Linked DNA regions of Homo sapiens: region 2 is linked to region 1. The links are contacts of gene promoters, found by promoter capture Hi-C in human tissues and cell types (Jung and others, 2019). All regions are on one chromosome and are shown on one strand. Each heading gives the region's core, a stretch centred on a gene start or on the middle of the fragment in contact. The rest is flanking DNA. Distances are from core to core; before and after follow the strand shown.

What was found. The method cuts DNA at HindIII sites, captures the fragments that hold promoters and counts their contacts. A contact is called where the count stands out against the background at its distance.
Region 2: a contact is called between a fragment that was not itself captured here and the fragment with the promoter of DSN1 in region 1, in 6 of the 25 tissues and cell types used here (H1 embryonic stem cells, dorsolateral prefrontal cortex, lymphoblastoid cells and 3 more).

What each region holds. Positions count from the first base shown.
Region 1 is chr20:36,770,033-36,776,794 of GRCh38, forward strand. It overlaps DSN1 (DSN1 component of MIS12 kinetochore complex), which reads right to left and starts at 3,731. Exons shown (of 11, transcript NM_001145315.2): 1 at 3,630-3,731; 2 at 1,393-1,441; 3 at 841-1,161. The coding sequence starts at 1,426. LOC124904894 (a long non-coding RNA gene) reads left to right here and starts at 5,103. Exons shown (of 2, transcript XR_007067574.1): 1 at 5,103-5,186. RefSeq lists a silencer at 814-979 and enhancers at 3,490-4,035, 3,657-3,716, 3,847-3,986, 3,997-4,076, 4,036-4,582. The HindIII fragment of the contact is 22,977 bases long and covers 3,023-6,762 here.
Region 2 is chr20:36,885,417-36,892,178 of GRCh38, forward strand. TLDC2 (TBC/LysM-associated domain containing 2) reads left to right here. Exons shown (of 7, transcript NM_080628.3): 5 at 2,039-2,112; 6 at 3,835-3,987. The coding sequence ends at 3,970. SAMHD1 (SAM and HD domain containing deoxynucleoside triphosphate triphosphohydrolase 1) reads right to left here. Exons shown (of 16, transcript NM_015474.4): 16 at 4,813-6,762. Among named protein-coding and RNA genes, the nearest start is that of TLDC2, 13 kb to the left of the region's middle. RefSeq lists an enhancer at 1,772-2,494. The HindIII fragment of the contact is 8,903 bases long and covers 1-6,762 here.

The sequences.
Region 1 (6,762 bases), core at 2,481-4,980:
AGGGAGGAGGGAAGAGAGAGGGGATAGGGAAAAAGAGACAAAGTTTTTTAGAGACAGGGGTCTTACTTTGTCACCCAGGATAGATTGAGTGGCGCAATCATAGCTCACTGCCTTCTTGAATTCCTGGGCCCAAGTGATCCTCTTGCCTCAGCCTCTCTCCAGTAGCTGGGACTACAGGTACGTGCCACCATGCCCTGCTATTTTTTTAAAAACTTTTTGTAGAGATGGGGTTTTGCCATCTTGCCTAGGTTGTCCTCAAACTCCTGGACTCAAGCAATCCTCCTGCCTCCCAAAGTGCTGGGATTATAGGCATGAGGCACCGTGCCTGGCCCACTCTAGATATTTGTATGTGCATCTTCCCTCTGAGGTATTTCCAGTTATAAAGGCTAAAATCAGGTATCAACCCAACTATCTTCTGCTCCACTTTAGGGTATGAGACAGAAAACCACAGAAAGAAATCTTTAATGTTTCTCACCCTAGCAGAGGTGAGTATTGAACAATTAGAAATTTATTTGTGGCAGCTAATAATATAATATAAGTAGTAAGCCAGGTGCAGTGGCTCACGCCTGTAGTCCCAGCTACTTGGGAGGCTGAAGTGGGAGGATTGCTTGAGCCCAGAAGTTCAAGTCCAGCCTAGACAAAACAGCAACATCCTGTCTCTTAAAAAGAAATAGCAGTAATACTGAACATTTACTAGGTGTTTGACATCAGTACTTATAAAGTAGCAAGTCATGTCTATTCTCCCACACTTTCTGCCATACCTCACTGCCTCTTATCTGAGCTGGAACCTGTCTCTTATCTGAGCTGGAACCTCACTGTCTTGTGTACACAGCACCCCACCTGTGATGCCCTGGTGAATGGGATGCAGCGACTTCCGCCGGTTCGTTTCTTTCATACTTGCTCGCCGCCAGGATTGCCTCCTGTCTTGATAACTGGCAGATTGTTCTTGAGGAGACAAATGAAGGGACTTCGACTGAAGTCTTTCCTGGTGGCTGAGATCACAATTTCCCCCTTTTTTAGGGCTAGAGCCAAGGTGAATTCTTTCCTCTGAAACGCCTTGATTCATCTCCAGGGAGGCAGATGTTTTAGCAAACACTTCCACAGGACTGAGACTTGATTCCAATTGATGATCATGAGTCTTAGACATCACTGGTCCTTTTTCTAGTATTTGTTATAAAAAAGTCAAAATACAAGATCAAGCCCGCCACAACTATTTGTGCAAAAAAGTGGAAAAAGTAAATGTATGCCCCTAGATCGTGGAAACATAAAGAAAGCATCTCTGCAAATAATGAGTATGTGATTCCAAATCTACCAGGAGCCAGGAAAGATTTGGGTATAGCTCAGAAGCCTGAACCCAAGGTAAGAGGTACTGAATTTCACTACAATACTTACCATCTATGATCTCTGATCTAGTCACTGAAGTCATCCTAGGTGGTAAACTCTGAAAATAGGAAAATGGAAGTGATCTGTTCTTCACGTTTCACTGCAGTCTCAATGGGGCTTTACAGCCCCAGAATAAATAGGCCGTGTGCTTTCCAGCCTCTCTGAGCTACCCTTATCCACCTCCCTGACAGAGAATATCAGCAGGGGCCATCACCTCCTCTTCTGAATTTCTATACACTTTATTGCTAGAAATATTCAAATCTCCCTGAACACATACCCTACCTTACTTCCCAGTTACTTTGTGTTTAACTAGTCCCTAATTCCATTGATGACATTATGGTCTACCTGGTCTTCCAAACTAGAAAAACCACATCATCCATTACTTCTTATTCTTAGTTCTCCAGATCCAAAGTCCTAACTGTTTTATAAACAGTCTCTAAATCTTTTCTCCATTCTCACTGTTACTAGTTTATTTATTATTTTGAGACAGGGTCTTGCTCTGTTGCCCAGGCTGGAGTACAGTAGCACAATCTTGGCTCACTGCAACCTCCTCCTCCCCAGTTCAGGTGATTCTCCTGCCTCAGCCTCCTGAGTAGCTGGGATTACAGGAATGCACCACCATACCTGGCTAATTTTTGCATTTTTAGTAGAGATGGGGTTTCCCCATGTTGGCCAGGCTGGTCTCAAACTCCTGGCCTCAAGTGATCCACCAGCCTAGGCCTCCCAAAGTCTGGGATTACAGGCGTGAGCCACCACGCCCAGCCTCACTGTTACTAGTTTAGTTCAGGTCTCATAATTTCTGGTCCCTCCCACTATCTTAATAGTCTCTCCACTAGTTTTTCTACCTCCAACGGCCCGTCTCCAGTCTATTCTTTGTTTTTGTTTTTTTTTGAGGTGGAATCTCACTCTGTCGCCAAGGCTGGAGTGCAGTGGCGCAGTCTCGGCTCACTGCAACTTTCACCTCCCAGGTTCAAGCAATTCTCCTGCCTCAGCTTCCTGAGTAGCTGGGATTACAGGTGCCTGCCACCACACCTGGCTAATTTTTGTATTTTTAGTAGCGATGGGGTTTCCCCATATTGGCCAGGCTGGTCTCGAACTCTTGACCTCAGGTGATCCGCCCGGCCTCAGCCTCCCAAAGTGCTGGGATTACAGGCCTGAGCCACCACACCCGGCCCAGTCTATTCTTCAGACAGTTGCCGGGACTTTTCCAAAGTGTAGTCAACACCTCAGGTAAACTAGTCCCAATTTACCCATTCCTGCTCTCTCCTCCCAGTCCTATTCCCTGTACTACTTCTGAATCTTTGCACATATCTGTCCTTCTACCTGTTAAACTTATTCATCCTTCCCAACCTGGCTCAAATATGAAGCTTTCACATCACTTATCTTTGGCAGAGTTGGTGGTTATGCCCCTTGGCCTTCGTAGCATTGGCTATAAAATCTGTTTACATGTCTGTCTCCCCAGCCAGGCTGTATTTGTATTCCTAGTGACTGTCAGGAACAACTGCCTGGAAGGCAGGGATGTCACCTAGGCATCTCTTCATCGTCCCCTCCCTCCCAGCAGAAATCTGTCTGTGGGGGGTGCTAAGTAAAAAGATATGAATATATGCAGAGGGACAAAAAGGAAAAGATAACAAGGAGGGCTCGGTCAAGGATCTGAATCCCCCACGGTCCTTATGACAATATCACACAAATCCAGGCTTGGATAATAACGACTGTATCACACAGATCCAGGCTTAGAAAAGCAACAACTGTCAACTGTTAAACGCTTATTCTGTGCTAGGACCTGTGCTATGTAAGCGCTTTACTTGCATCGTTATTCCACTTAATCCCTTCCACAACTCCGTAAGCACCATTAACTCCACTTTGCAGACAGGGGAACTGAGGTTCAGAGGGGCAAAAAGCCTGGCCCAAGCTTGTGACACAGCCAGCCTGGGGGCACAGGGGCAATTCGAACCCCAGCCCTCTACCCAGTCCTCACCCCTGTTTCTGGAGCCTAGACCCCTGGCACGGCAGATACGTCTCTAATGGGGTCGGTAAGGGGGACTGCCCTCGGGTTTCATTTCACCCGGGAGGAGGTCGCAGCGCCCTCGGGGACCCCCAGTGTCCACGGTCGGGGCCGGGGCTGCGGCGGGTCGAGCTGGGCCGACGGGTACGACGCCGAAGAGATTAGTGCGGCGGCGGGCGGGGCCACATCAGAGGACAAGTCTGTGACTTCCTGACGCCCGTCCAGTCCGGAACCTCCGTACCTGAAACACAAGGCCACGGGTCGCTCTCCACAGCCCCAGGTCACTCCTGGACGCCTTGCGCACCCGCAGCCGATACTCCCTGATCAGGGTGAAGCGGTCTCCACCTTCTACGTCACGGTCACCGCCTCCGAAACTCCCGCCAACCAAGGGCGCATGCGCGGCCGTCAGTTTCTCGGGCACGCGCGCGCAGAACGCCTGCCTCCGGCGATGCACATGCGTACACCGCCGCCCGACGCGCATGCGTACACCGCCGTCCAACGCTCCTGCCAGCTCCGCTCCTCTAGTCCAAGTCCTTTAGGTCCTGTCTGGCCACGTCACCACCTCCCCGCAACACCCCGCCCGGGAGTCCCTTTCCGGGACCCGCCACACTATCGTGTCCTTTTGCGCCCGACGGCCCCAGAGCCCATCTAAGATGGGGGAAACAGAGGCCCGGAGAGATTCTTGCCGGAGGAATACAGCGCCTCAAAGGGCATCTGATGCCCTGTCCCCGTCGCTAGGCTCTGGTTCCCACTCCCTTTATCTCCTTAACTCCCAAAATGTGGACCGTGACTCTCCCCAGGGTGGACTGGAGCTCTGAGCTCAGTTTGCCTCACAGTCTATCCCACTCCTGCTCTAGGACTTTTTCTCTCTCATTTCCAGGCCACTCCCTCAAACGGCTTGCTTTACTTGCTTGGTGGGTGGGGGCCTGCCCTCGGGTTTCATTTCACCCGGGAGGAGGTCGCAGCGCCCCCAAGTGGTCGCAGTGTCCTTAGTCGGGGTCGGGGGGTGCGGCAGGTCGGGCTGGTCCTTAGGGGTAGGACGGGGACAGGGCATCAGATGCCCTTTGAGGCGCTATATTCCCAGGCGCTGTTCCCTCTGCCTGGGAAGGCTTTCCCTGCTTTTCCTAGCTACATCCTCCAATTTTTTTGTATTTTGAGACGGAGTCTCGCTCTGTCGCCCAGGCTAGAGTGCAGTGGCGCGATCTCGGCTCCCGGCAACCTCCGCCTCCCGGGTTCGGGTTCAAGCGATTCTCCTGCCTCAGCCTCCCGAGTAGCTGGGATTACAGGCGCCCACCACCACGCCTGGCTAATTTTTGTATTTTTAGTAGAGACGGCCACTAAAAATGTTGGCCAGGCTGGTCGCGAACTCCTGACCTCAAGTGATCCACCCACTTCGGCCTCCCAAAGAGCTGGGATTACAGGCATGAGCCACTGCGCCCGGCCACATCCTCGAATTTTAAGCCTCAGCTAAGGAATGATTGATTTCTCTCCAAGCATTCTCTCTGGCCTTAGGCTGAAAACCAACTGTCCTTTCTGTGCTCCCAGGAGCCCAATCTGTTCCTGCTCCACTATCCCATGCTGGTCTAGGAGGCTCCAGAGAGCGGGCTGCTTCCTCAGCACCCAGCACGACGCCACCAAAATGTCCCCTTGGATGTGCACAGTCCTTTCTTTCACAGAAAAACTTCCAAATATTGAATTATAAGCAGCCCACAGTCCAAAAGAGGGGTTGGAGAGAGGCAGCTGGAGCTGACCGTGGTCATCCTTCCATAGCAGTTGTGGTCCTTGGAAAAGTTTTCTGGTGGGAGACAAAAATCTGCCTTCCTGAAATTTCCACCCTGTGGTTCCAGCCTGCTGGCTGCAGCAGCCATTCTGAAAGCAGAGATTTGCCCTTGGCTCCCTGAATATCACTTTCTGGGGTTGAGAGGTACCCAGTTCCTTTTATGCTTGCCTGCCTCTTAAACTCCTCTCTGTCAACGTGCCAGGAAGAGAACTCAGTGTTCCTTCCCAGCTAGGGCTGGCCATCCTGGGGCACAATGAGAAAATGATTTCATGGAATACAGACCCAATACATCTTCTACATCGTTTCCCTGCTTTGAATTGTTGCATGGCTCCCTCCTGTCCACAGGAGGCACACATTTTTTTCCCCTATAAGGCACTGTGTCATTAGGCTGGGTGTGGTGGCTCACGCCTCTAATCCCAGCAGTTTGGGAGGCTGAGGCCTGCGGATCAGTTGAGGTCAGGAGTTTGAGACCAGCCTGGCCAACATAGCAAAACCCTGTCTCTACTAAAAATACAAAAATTAGCCAGGTGTGGTGGTATGCACCTATAATCCCTGTTACTTGAGAGGCTGAAGCAGGAGAATCACTTGAACCTGGGAGGCCAGGAGAATCACTTGAACCTGGGAGGCCAGGGCTGCGGTGAGCTAAGAACATGCCACTGTACTCCAGTCTGGGCAACAGAGCAAGATTTCATCTCAAAAAAAAAAAAAAAAAAGAAAAAAGAAAAGAAAAGGAAAAAGAAAAAAGGCACTGTGTGATCTGACCCAGCCTCTTCTTTCAGTTCCCCAGTTCTGCTCTGCTCTCTTTCTACGAGGCTTTCACACATGGTATTCCCTCTCCCTGGAACCACTTCCCCTCAGTCCCGTGCCTACAACACACCACCATGGCCTTCATCTGGTCAACATCTCAATCTTAGGTGTCATTCAGATGTCCTTTCCTCTGTGAAGCCTTTCTTGTTTCCTCTGGGCTGGCTGAGCACCCTGGGCTCCCCCTGCCATTAACATTTGATTTCATATCTTCCAGGCCCATCCATTGTATCCTCAATACCTAGCACATGCCTGGCTGTTATTAGCCCCTCATAGAAGAGATCTATGAAGTATCATGTAGCCAGCTTCTAAGATGGCCCCCAATGACCCCTGGTTCCTGGTGTTCATGCCCTCGTGTTGTCCCCTCCCATGCTGAAGAATGCTAGTCTATATAACCAATTAGATATTGCAGACATTATAGACATTATAGTCTGTGGCTTTTTTTTTTTTTTTTGAGACGGAGTTTTGCTCTTGTTGCCCAGGCTGGAGTGCAATGGCGCGATCTTGGTTCACAGCAACCTCTGCCTCCTGAGTTCAAGCGATTCTCCTGCCTCAGCCTCCCGAGTAGCTGGGATTACATGCATGCACCACCACACCCAGCTAACTGTGTATTTTTAGTAGAGATGGGGTTTCTCTATGTTGGTCAGGCTGATCTCCAACTCCCGACCTCAGGTGATCTGCCCGCCTCGGCCTCCCAAAGTGCTGGGATTACAGGCATGAGCCACCGCGCCTGGCCTAGTCTGTGAGTTTCAAGGCTTAGCTATAAAAGACATTGTGACTTCCTCCCTGC
Region 2 (6,762 bases), core at 1,687-4,186, 110 kb after region 1:
CTGGCCTTCTGGCACTTGTATTCCTCATGAATTCGGTAGTTCGTTGATTGCTATTCCAAACGGCACCATGAACTTGGTCTCAATTCCTTCCACAGCAACGTGTATCTTACTCCTTCAGGTCAAAGGTCATGTCCTTCGAGAAAGTAGAGGAGGACTTGAATGATTCTGTCCCCTTGTGGTCACTTGTTAATATGATCTCATCTCTCCTGAGCATAGGACGTATCTTTTATTAGTCTGTTTTCCGGCTAAAAACCCTTTGGTTGCTCACAGCATTTTGGGCCACTGATTAAGGCAATAACATCCTATCGTTTTGCAGCCCTTTAAAACTATTTTGACTCTTGAATAATTTTTGCATTCAATAAATATATATGTTCCAGGAATACAGCCAGGAAGAAGACAGGCCACACGGAACTTAACGTCCTTAATATAAATAAATAAAGAGGAATGAAACAGGGTCTGGGAGGAAGGGCTACTTCAGATAGGGTGGTCCAGGAAATTTCTGAGATGATATTTGGGCTGAAGGATGAGAGGTGGGCCCTCTGAGGATCTAGGGGAAGAGCATTCTGGGCAGAGGGATTCTAGGTCAGGAATGGGCTTTGGGTGTTCCAGGGATGGAAAGACTGGTGTGGCTAATGTGTAGTCAATAAGGGGGAGAAGGGGCCAGAGAGAAAATCAGGGGTTAGAGCTGGCTGCACTTTTTAAGTTTTGACAGTTTTTTTGTTGTTTTTTAGAGTTGGGGTCTTGCGCTGTTATCCACGCTAGAGTGCAGTGGTGCGATCATAGCTCACTGCAGCCTCCACTCCTGGGCTCAAGTGATCCTTCCACCTTAGCCTCCCCAGTAGCTGGGACTATAGGTGCACACCACTGTGACCAGCTAGGTTTAAAAATTTGTTTTAGGGCCGGGCGCAGTGGCTCGAGCCTGTAATCCCAGCTCTTTGGGAGGCCAAGGCAGGCGGATCACGAGGTCAATAGATTGAGACCAGCCTGGGCAACATGGTGAAACCTGTTTCTACTAAAATACAAAAAGTTAGCCGGGCGTGGTGGTGCGTGCCTGTAGTCCCAGCCACTCAGGAGGCTGAGGCAGGGGAATCGTTTGAACTCAGGAGGCGGAGGTTGCAGTGAGCCAAGATTGCGCCACTGCACTCCAGCCTGGCAAAAGAGCGAGACTCTGTCTCAAAAGAGAGAGAAAAAAAATTTTTTTTAGAGATAGGGGAGGGTCTTACTATGTTGCCTTGGTTGGTCTAGAACTCCTGACCTCGAGGAAACTCCTGGCCTCAAGTGATCCTCCCGCCTCAGCCTACTGAGTAGCTGGGATTACAAGTGCACACCATCACACCTAGCTAGTTAAAAAATTGCTGGGATTACAGGCATGAGCCACTGCGCCAGTCCCAGGCTGCACTTCTGGCCATTGTTAAGGAGTTGAATTTTATCCCCATTGCAATGGGAAGCCATTGGAGGACTTAGGCAGAGGAGAGATAACATCTGATTTGGACGTAGAACAGATCACGCAGATTGCAGTGTGGGTATGGCTGTAGGTACAGACAGTGGATGCAGAGGGACCAGCTGGGAGGCTGTGATCCAGGCAGAGGACGGGATAGAAATGGCGGCAGGCCCGCTGTGTCTAGAGCTGCGAGGCTTGTTGATGAGCTGGATGTGAGGCAGCACTGAAGAGCAGGCGGGCTGGTGTTGTCCGGGTGAGAGTTAGTTAGAAGGGCAGTATCAGTTCCCACTCCTGGCCTGGACTGCTCCCCTCCTCCCTCCAGCTTTGGAAGCAGGAAGCCTCAGGGGTCGTTGTCCTATTCTAGAACAAAGAGGCTTCTAGGCTGTAGGAATTCAAACTAGAGGGCATGCGGTGGTGACTCCAAGGAGACTGAGAAGATAAACCCCAAGATCCCTGAGCCCGGAGTCCCACCTGCGGCTCGGTTGGGGCCTGGATGCTGTTCCCGCCACAACACTGCCATCCAGTGGTTCGGGGTCAAACTGCAAGGGCGGGACTCGCTCGCTTAGTAACCTGAGCCTTTCCCTATGTATCACCCAGGTCTTTAAGTGGACTGGAAGCAACTCTTTCTTTGTGAAGGGAGACTTGGATTCACTGATGATGGGCAGTGGCAGGTGAGTGTCTCAGTCTTCCCGAGTCTTGGGGCGGTCTGTGTTCTGGTCCCTTTCCCTCTGCCGAACTGCTGGGCTAGGCTGCCCTTGATGCAATGGCGAGGCTAGTGGGGAACTCTCAGGCCGTTCCCCTCATTGCTCAGCCTCCCAGCCAACCCCCTCAACCTCACGCTAAGCCAGTATTAAGGAGAAAGGATGCATGAGTGCCCCCACTGAAGTGTTACAGCTGGTGACAGTTTAGTCTGAATGTATGCAACTTTGGGAAAAGAATTCCACATGGTTGGATGAGACTAGCGTCAAGAGATGAGTGTGCCTCGTTTTTCCACCAGCCCAGGAATTGCAGGGGACATAACTCATTGCAGGAACCTCCCTCGGTGAGGACGGGGTAGAGAGAGGTAGGAAAAAAAAGTTGATCTCATCCTGGTGTGACCTTCACATTCAGGGGGCATGCGTCTTATCCTGAGGGCGGGGATGAGAGCATTGCTTGATTAGTACCAGGCAAATTCTTTGCTCTCCCAACTGCCTGAAAAGCCTCCACTGAGGGGCAGCTTGGCACAGAACACATCAGCCATTGCTGATCTGCAGGAATTCACTTCCTGGTTTCAGCCGAGGTTTTCTGTCAAATAAGGGGATTAGAATGGACGCTCTGAAGCATTTGGGCTCTCAGAGTTTGCACCCTGAGATGTACTAGCTTTGGTTAAAGAATTGCCATTTTGTTTTTTTTGAGACAGAGTCTCGCTCTGTCGCCCAGGCTGGAGTGCAGTGGTGTGATCTCAGCTCACCACACCCTCCGACTCCTGGGTTCAAGTGATTCTCCTGCCTCAGCGTCTCGAGTAGCTGGGACAACAGTTGCCCACCACCACGTCCGGCTAATTTTTGTATTAAGAATTGCTATCTTGGACCGAGCGTGGTGGCTTGTGCCTGTAATCCCAGCACTTTGGGAGGCCGAGGTGGGCGGATCACGAGGTCAGGAGATCGAGACCGTCCTGGCTAACATGGTGAAACCCCATCTCTACTAAAAATACAAAAAATCAGCCAGGCGTGGTGGTGGGCACCCGTAGTCCCAGCTACTCGGGAGGCTGAGGCAGGAGAATGGTGTGAACCCGGGAGGTGGAGCTTGCAGTGAGCCAAGATCGCGCCATTGCACTCCAGGCTGGGCGACAGAGCAAGACTCCTATCAAAAAAAAAAAAAAAAAAAAAAAATTGCCATCTTGACCAGGCGCAGTGGCTCACACCTGTAATCCCAGCACTTTGGGAGGCCAAGGCAGGCAGATCGCTTGAGGTCAGGAGTTCAAGACCAGCCTGGCCAACATAGCAAAACCCCATCTCTACTAAACATACAAAAATTAGCCAGGCATAGTGGTGGGCGGCCTGTAATACCAGCTACTAGGGAGGCTGAGGTAGGAAAATTGCTTGAACCCGGGAGGTGGAGGTTGTGGTGAGCCAGGGTCGTGCCACTGCACTCCAGCCTGGGTGACAAAGCAAGACTCCGTTTCAATAAATAAATAAATAAATAAATAAACAAATAAATAAATAAAGCTCTTAACCCCATGGGGAACAATGTGCTGAGTCCCCAATAATTCAGTATAAATTGCTTTAAGGGGCGATAAGACAGGTGAAACTGGGCTGCCGTCCTGGCATGGCCAAGAGCTGATGCTGGTGGCAGAGCCTGGGGGTTTCAGCACACAGGAGTGAGCCGCACCAAGACTGTCCTCTTCTCTCTAGTGGCCGGTTTGGGCTGTGGTTGGATGGAGACTTGTTCCGCGGGGGAAGCTCCCCTTGCCCGACCTTCAACAACGAGGTGCTGGCCCGGCAGGAGCAGTTCTGCATCCAGGAGCTGGAGGCTTGGCTTCTCAGCTGACAGCCCTGCGGCAACAGGTACTCAGCCCTGCTCATGATGCCACCCAGGCCTTCCTGACACACAGCAGCCTGTGCTGTTTGAAACACAGATGGTGAAGGGCCCTAGAGTTGGCCGAGGCTGCTGGCCAGCCTCCTTGTGGCCTGGGGACCCAAGATACAGGTGGGGGCAGGCACTGCTCTTTTGCAGAGGTGACTTTGAAGGATTAAAAGACGCTTACACCTTACTCAAGCAGCACAGAGACCCTAAGCTAACAGGGTCTTAGAAAACTCAGAAAAATCCACATCTCTTCCCCGCTAGTGCCTGCCTCCTGGCAAAGGGAAGATTTTTCACTATGCTGTTCCTCGCCAGCTACTGAACGAGGAAAACCAACCTCATGAACATTATCATTTTAGAGGTTCTACAACTGATTCATGTTTATTGTAGAAAAACCAGAAGACGTTAAAAAAATTAAAATTGCCTAAAATTCAACCCCCCCCAACTCTTAACATTTTCATGTATATCCTTCCAGACAATGTTCCATGAATGTGTGTGTGTGTGTGTGTGTATACTTACAAAAACAGGATTCTACTCTGTATGTGTGGAAATGATTTTAACTTACAGAATATTGTCAAACCTTAGAAACCTGGGCTTGAGCACTGGAACTAATAAATACTGTAGCAGCGTCGTTCCTCCTCTGGCCTGCTGCAGAATGTTGAGGCCTTTTTGTCTGCCACCAGTGCCAGGTGCTTGTGAGTCTGTTATTTAATTTCACAATGAAGGTATGAAAGGAGTAAATGAGTAATATGCATTTTTGGACAAAGAGGTCGAAACCTTTGTGGAACACAACTTTCAAGATGGAGATATATATTCACGAAGCTTTATTGCAGCTGTTTCCCTTACCCAGTTGAAGTGGCCAGTCATTTTAATTTGCAGTTCTATTTACATTCCCAAGGTAACCACGTTCAGTAACTCTCTAGAGGCTAAGCTGTTAAAATTTCCATTTTTATACAAATAGCAAAGATATTTCTTTCTCTTTCTTTCTTTCTTTCTTTCTTTTCTTTCTCTCTTTCCTTCCTTCCTTCCCTCCTTCCTTCCTTCCTTTCTTTCTTTTTGTTTGAGACAGAGTTTCGCTCTTGACCCCGAGGCTGGAGTGCAGTGGCCTGATCTTGGCTCACTGCAACCTCTGCCTCCCGGATTCAAGCGATTCTCCTGCCTCAGCCTCCCGAGTAGCTGGGATTACAAGCACACACCACCACGCCCGGCTAATTTCACCCGGCTAATTTTTGTATTTTTAGTAGAGACTGGGTTTCGCCATGCTAGCCAGGCTGGTCTCAACTCTTTACCTCAAGTGATCCGCCCACCTTGGCCTCCCAAAGTGCTGGGATTACAGGCATGACCACCTCGCCTGGCCAAGAAAAATGTAACCTTGTAAATAGCACAGCGTTCTCATAATGGAAACAGTTGCAAAGAACATAAAGTACAGCTGCGTTACATGTAACAAAAGATGCAAACAAAATAGATTCAAGTTGTTTTGCAGACAGCACAATGATACAATATTAGGACTACAGAATCTCAGAGTAAACCACAATGATTTAAAGGTAAGATACACAGAAATAAAATGATTTTAACAGAAAAATATGACATTCCTGACCTTAGGTCTGGGCACATGATGTCTGACCCCTATAGAGGCACCTTGGCTAAAATGGGAATGACCTAGTGCCATGGCTGACCTCACTTGTGCGTTGCTGAGCCCATATGTGAACAAATCCCCTTGATACAGCACCATGGTAGGCATGAGAGGAGAAGTGTTTTAACTATTCTCTTATGAATTGTAACCAACCCTTATTATCTACTGATGGATGGACAGGGGGTGGGGTGATCATACAGGATGGCAGACATTCCAAGTACTCTTCACCCCAGTGTGGACGGAACAGAATCTGGCTACACGGTGGCCAGTGATGGACTGCTGGGAAATCTGCTGGCCTGTGGTCTGAGTTCCCCTACTTGCTCAGGCTGCCCCTCACTCCCAGTGTGCCAGGGAGGCTTAGTCCGGGGAGCATCAGAGCAGAAGACATTCGGGGCTCATGGCTCCCATCCCCACTGGCCTGTATCTTCAGCACCCTCTGGCCACCACCAGCTTTGGCTCTAACTGCAGACTTTGTTCTTGGTGAATTGCTATAGAACTGGGAATGAGGTGTGCCCTGGGCACAGGGGCACTGCCCCACCAAGGTGGTGCCCACTCCACTGCTGGGAAAACGAAGTTACCTAGCGGAGCCTGGAGCCCACTGGGTGGTCACTAATTTCAGCACAGGCAGTGCAGTGTTTGTGCTTTTTTTTTTGGAGATGGAGTCTCACTCTGTCACCCAGGCTGGAGTGCAATGGCGTGATCTAGGCTCACTGCAACCTCCGCCTCCCAGGTTCGAGCAATCCTCCTGCCTCAGCCTCCCAAGTAGCTGGGACTACAGGCACACGCCGCCACGCCTGGCTAGTGTTTGCTCTTAAATACACAAAATGCACTGAACCAGCAAAAACAAAGTCCCAGGTCTGAGGAGCTCTGAGGATGATGCCTGTGATGGCCTCTGGCCAGCTCTCCAGGATACTGAGAGAGCAGGTCAGGGGAGGCCTTCTCCAGGCTGGGCAGTGGGAAGGCCCTCTGGACCGGGGGAGTGAGTATTCAGGGGACAAAGGCACTACCCGGGTCTGGAGCCGCCACGGAGCCAGGGCACAGCCTAGTTTGGGGGATTCCTCTGTCACTGGGGTAGGATCTCCCAACAAGAGGCGGCTTTATGTTCCACTCACGAAGAGGCCAGAGC